Linked DNA regions of Homo sapiens: region 1 is linked to region 2. The links are contacts of gene promoters, found by promoter capture Hi-C in blood cells and fetal thymus (Javierre and others, 2016). All regions are on one chromosome and are shown on one strand. Each heading gives the region's core, a stretch centred on a gene start or on the middle of the fragment in contact. The rest is flanking DNA. Distances are from core to core; before and after follow the strand shown. Region 1 holds the start of KCTD14 (potassium channel tetramerization domain containing 14). Region 2 overlaps INTS4 (integrator complex subunit 4).

Evidence for each region. The method cuts DNA at HindIII sites, captures the fragments that hold promoters and counts their contacts. A CHiCAGO score of 5 or more calls a contact.
Region 1: the fragment with the promoter of KCTD14 here is called in contact with a fragment that was not itself captured in region 2 in 7 of 17 cell types (total B cells, fetal thymus, naive CD8 T cells and 4 more); the score reaches 9.0 in total B cells.

The regions. Positions count from the first base shown.
Region 1 is chr11:78,021,882-78,024,581 of GRCh38, forward strand. It overlaps KCTD14 (potassium channel tetramerization domain containing 14), which reads right to left and starts at 1,395. Exons shown (of 2, transcript NM_023930.4): 1 at 1,279-1,395. The coding sequence starts at 1,368. All of the region lies in intron 2 of NDUFC2-KCTD14 (NDUFC2-KCTD14 readthrough), which reads right to left. It overlaps LOC124902723 (a long non-coding RNA gene), which reads left to right and starts at 662. Exons shown (of 2, transcript XR_007062795.1): 1 at 662-1,140; 2 at 1,653-1,841. RefSeq lists enhancers at 184-751, 752-1,321, 1,322-1,889. The HindIII fragment of the contact is 5,224 bases long and covers 1-2,700 here.
Region 2 is chr11:77,884,605-77,887,304 of GRCh38, forward strand. All of the region lies in intron 21 of INTS4 (integrator complex subunit 4), which reads right to left. It also overlaps a transcript of AAMDC not described here. Among named protein-coding and RNA genes, the nearest start is that of AAMDC, 65 kb to the left of the region's middle. The HindIII fragment of the contact is 2,648 bases long and covers 1-2,607 here.

The DNA.
Region 1 (2,700 bases), core at 145-2,644, 140 kb after region 2:
TGCCTGCTGCTCCCCACTCCTCCAATCCAGAGCTGGGCAAGCCCCCTCACCTCCAGAAGCTCACTCACTTGGCCATCCGCACTCCTTTCTCTGACCCCACTCATCCTTCAGATGAATTCCTCTGGGAGTCCTTCGGGGTGGGTTGTCTCACTGTGATCCCAGAAAGTCCTACACTACTATACTTCCACTGGCCTGGCAGTTCTTCCCTTGCAATTCCCTGTTTCTTCATTGACTGTGAGGTTCCTGGCCAAGTGCTGTGTTTCATGCCTGTAATCCCAGCACTTTGGGAGGCTGAGGTAGGAGGATTGCCTGAGCCTAAGAGTTTGAGACCAGCCTGGGTCTCACCAACATGGCGAGACCCCATCTCTATTTTAACAAACAAACAAACAAACAAAAACTCTGTGAGGCTCCTAAGGGAGGGGAATATCCTCTGATTTACAGGAGCATCTAGTATTCTGTTCAAGGCCAATCTTGCCCTACCTGGCATCATGCACAGTGCCTTACACTTCCCCAGTAATTCATTCAGGCATTTATGGAACACCTAGGGTGGTCCTGGCACTAGGCATGTGGCTTTGTCAATAGCCAACAACAATGACGTGATCATGGCCCTATTAGAGAGAGCCACGCTGCCCTGCTGCTGGATCTGCTTTCTCTTCCTCCAGGTCTTCAGGATGACTCTCAGTGCAGGAGAGAACCCGAATGTTCTGCTCCCAGAGTGCACGCAGCCTTTTCCCCATCCTCCTCCCCAACTCCCCTCACCCAAGCTGGGGACCAGGCAGGCAAGCAGAGGGATTTGGGACCCAGCCAGAGGGCAGGGGCAGGCTGAAGACCCAGCCAAGGGGCAGGGGCAGGCTGGAGAGGGCTGCAGGTGAGGGAAAGATCCTCTGGCCGAGCTGGTTGGATGGGCTTCTCCCACCGGGAGCAAGGGAGAAGGTGGGGCAGAGGAGGAGTCGTGGGCTAGGACAAGCCGGTGGGGAAGAGACAAGGGAAAGGAACTAAAGACCCAATGTAGAGGGAGGAAGCAAAAGGGCAAAGAGGAAAGGCTGGACAGAGCCAAACCAGAAAGGGACACCGAGGCGCGAAAGGAGAGTGATCCCAGCAGGAGGGACGGCAAAGATTGAAGAGAGCGACCAGCCCGAGGTGAAGGGGGACAGCGCGCCAGAAGCAGGGGGCTCGGGCGTCTGGGAGGGACGGGCAGGAGAAACTGGAAGGGAGGGAAGAGGCGGAGGGAAGAGGCGGAGGACAGAGGCGCGGGGACGCAGCTAGCCTCGCACTTACCGTTGGCCGCCTGGGCCGGGGGGACTGGGGCAGAGGGGTCTGGCTCGTCATCCTGCCCACTGGCCGCTCCACTGCGCAGCCCTGCCACATGCAGATCACTTGGGCCAGCGGAAGTGCCCCTGGCTGCCCGCCCCTAGGTGGGAACACCGAGGCTCAAGGCGGGACGGGGCTGAGCCAGGCGTGGCTTGCAGTGAGACTGGGCCAAGTGCAGAAAGAAATGGACAGTCTGTCTATTTGGGGCTTCTAAAAGTTGTTAGGCCCTGAGAAGGGCTGACTTTGGAGACCGAGAAATGGAGCAGACCCCTTAAGGACTGACCTTTTGATATAGATTAATTTCCTTCCTTTTCTTTCTTTCTTTCTTTTTTTTTTTTCAGAGACAGGGTCTCACTCTATCGCTCAGGCTGAAGTGCAGTGGCGGATCAGGCTCACTGCAACCTCAACCTCCTGGGCTCAAGTGATCCTCCCACCTCAGCCTCCCAAAGTGGTGGGATTACAGGCCTGAGCCACGGCAACTTGCCTCTTCCTATATTTTCTTTTACGCTTAAATAAATTACTTAAACATATTGCTTGAATCCCGTTATTAAAGTTGACATTAGTTAATGCCCCTCTCTGGGCCTCGGAGTTCCCAGTAGTGAAATGGGGGAGGCAGAAGGAATTGACATTGACTGACATTGACAACCAGAGACTTTCTATTCCCTACAGTCCTAGGGAGTGAAAGATCCGCAACACCCATTTTACAGATCAGAAAACTGGCGCTCTAGGAGGTAGGGTGGTGTTAAAATGTAAAGTCTGAGGATCAACAAAACTTTTTTAAGAGTATACTTGAGTAACAGGCAATTCTTGAATCGGGGAACACCAGATGGAAAGAGGTTGAGTGTTCCCATGACAATGCATCAGAGGCAAATATTTATGGGGAGAATATGGAAGCAAGATATTTTGTTGGGGACAGGCATGGTGGCTCACGCCTGTAATCCTAGCACTTTGGGAGGCCAAAGCGGACAGATCATTTGAGGTCAGAAGTTCGAGACCAGCCTGACCAAAATGGTGAAACCCCGTCTCTACTGAAAATACAAAAATTAGCTGGGTGTGATGGCATGTGCCTGTAATCCCAGATACTGTGGACGCTGAGGCAGGAGAATCGCTGGAACCCGGGAGGCAGAGATTGTAGTGAGCTAAGATTGCACCACTGAACTCCAGCCTGGGCAACAAAGATTCCCTCTCAAAAAAAAAAAAAAAAAATATATATATATATACACACACACACACACACACACACACACACACACATATATATATATATACATATATATATATAAAATTGGTTACAGTTAAAAAATCTCCTTTTTTGGTTTCCTTTGTTGAAAAGTCCACAGCTACTTAATTGTATGTTAGTTGGCTGCTTGTGGTTGGCTAATGTTAAGT
Region 2 (2,700 bases), core at 34-2,533:
TATGAAGGCAGAGTAGGGAACCACACAGGTCTTCCAATGTTGAAACTGTGGTCAATGTTGAAACTGCGGAAGGCATGTCTCACCCACTTGCCCTATAATCCTTCATCTCTCCTCAGGTCATGGGGCCTCCCCCTGATTCTACACTTCTTTCTTTCTTTTTTTTTCTTTAAAACAGGGTCTTACTCTGCCACCCAGGCTGGAGTGCAGTGGCACGATCATAACTCACTGAAGCCTCAAACTCCTGGGCGCAAGTGATCTTCCTGCCTCAGCCTCCTGAGGAGTGGGGATTACAGGCACGTGCCACCACGCCAGGTAATTTTCTTTTTAAATTTTTTTGTAGAGACAAGATCTTGCTATGTTGCCCAGGCTAGTCTCCAACTCTTGACCTCAAGTGATCCTCCTGCCTCAGACTCCCATAGTGTTGGAATTACTGGCATGAGCAATTGTGCCCAGCCTACCCTTATTTCTTTTTCTTTTTCTTTTTTCTTTTCTTGAGATAGTCTCACTCTGTCACACAAGCTGAACTGCAGTGGCATGATCTCGGCTCACTGCAACCTCCGCCTCCCGGGTTAAAGTGATTCTCCTGCCTCAGCCTCCCAAGTAGCTGGGATTACAGGCGCCCACCGTCATGCCCGGCTAATTTTGTATCTTTAGTAGAGATGGGGTTTCACCATGTTGGCCAGGTTGGTCTCGAACTCCTGACCTCAGGTGATCTTCCTACTTCAGCCTCCCAAAGTGTTGGGATTACAGGCGTGAGCCACCACACCTGGCCTACCCTTATTTCTTAAAGCTGCTACTCCCCACTCTAGTTCTAGGCTCCAAGCTCCCAAACCTACTATAGGAAAAAAATGCAGGTGTCTCAGTTTCCTGATCCTTATTATCTTTAAAGACAAGTGCTTGGGCTTCATTTTTTTTTAGAAAATGAAGGGGAGGGCCGGGCACAGTGGCTCACACCTGTAATCCCAGCACTTTGGGAGGCTGAGCCAGGTGGATTACTTGAGGTCAGGAGTTCAAGACCAGTCTGGTCAACATGATGAAACCCCTTCTCTACTAAAAATACAAAAATTAGCTGGGTATGGTGGCGTGTGCCTGTAGTCCCAGCTACTTGGGAGGCTGAAGCAGGAGAATCACTTGAACCTGGGAGGCAGAGGTTGCAGTGAGCTGAGATCGCTGCCACTGCACTCCAGCCTGGGTGACAGAGTGAGATTCTGTCTCAAAAAAAAGAAAGAAAGAAAGAAAAAGAAGGGCAGAGGGGGGCTGAAACAGCAATGATCATGGGAAAAACAAATGAACAGGGGCCATAATTTCTGTGTTCAGCAGGTGCAGTGGCTCATGCCTATAATCCCAGCATTTTGCGGGGCTGAGGCGGGAGGATTGCTTGAAGACAGGAGTTTAAGACGAGACTGGGCAAAAAAGTAAGACCCCCCAATCTCCACACAAAAAAAATTAAAATTAGCCAGGTGTAGTGGTGTGTATCTCTAGTTCCAGCTACTCAGGAGGCTGAGGCAGGAGGATCCCTTGGACACAGAAGTTTGAGGTCACAGTGAGCTGACCATGCCACTGCACTCCAGCCCAGGCAACAGACAGAGACCTTGTCTCAAAAAAAAGAAAAAAAAAATTCCCAGCATTCTCAGCAAAACTGTCCTTGGTGAAAGGCCTTCACTCCTCTGTGAAATGGTTGCTGGAAGCCTTCTTTCATTTGTCTACTCCAAAAGTGGAGCTTAGAAACCTGTGGCCCAAGTAGGTCAGAGGAAGGAAATGGCCAGTATGAATGATCATCAGGTAGAATACAGTAACCTAGATTAGGCTTACAAGAGTTAATAATCGCGAAGGCCCGCGGCGGGTGTTGATGCCATGTGATTTCTGCCCAGTGCTCTGAATGTCAAAGTGAAGAAATTCAATGAAGCACGGGTAAACGGCGGGAGTAACTATGACTCTCTTAAGGTAGCCAAATGCCTTGTCATCTAATTAGTGACGCACATGAATGGATGAACGAGATTCCCACTGTCCCTACCTACTATCCAGCGAAACCACAGCCAAGGGAATGGGCTTGGCGGAATCAGCAGGGAAAGAAGACCCTGTTGAGCTTGACTCTAGTCTGGCAGGGTGAAGAGACACGAGAGGTGTAGAATAGGTGGGAGGCGCCCGGCGAGGGGGCGGGGCAGGGTCCGCAGGCCTTGCTAAGAAACTCACTCAAAACCGCTCAACTACATGGAAACTGAACAACCTGCTCCTGAATGACTACTGGGTACATAACGAAATGAAGGCAGACATAAAGATATTCTTTGAAACCAACGAGAACAAAGACACAACATACCAGAATCTCTGGGACACATTCAAAGCAGTGTGTAGAGGGAAATTTATAGCACTAAATGCCCACAAGAGAAAGCAGGAAAGATCCAAAATTGACACCCTAACATCACAATTAAAAGAACTAGAAAAGCAAGAGCAAACACATTCAAAAGCTAGCAGAAGGCAAGAAATAACTAAAATCAGAGCAGAACTGAAGGAAATAGAGACACAAAAAACCCTTCAAAAAATTAATGAATCCACCACCAAAAATCCTCAATAAAATACTGGCAAACCAAATCCAGCAGCACATCAGAAAGCTTATCCACCATGATCAAGTGGGCTTCATCCCTGGGATGCAAGGCTGGTTCAACATACGAAAATCAATAAATGTAATCCATCATATAAACA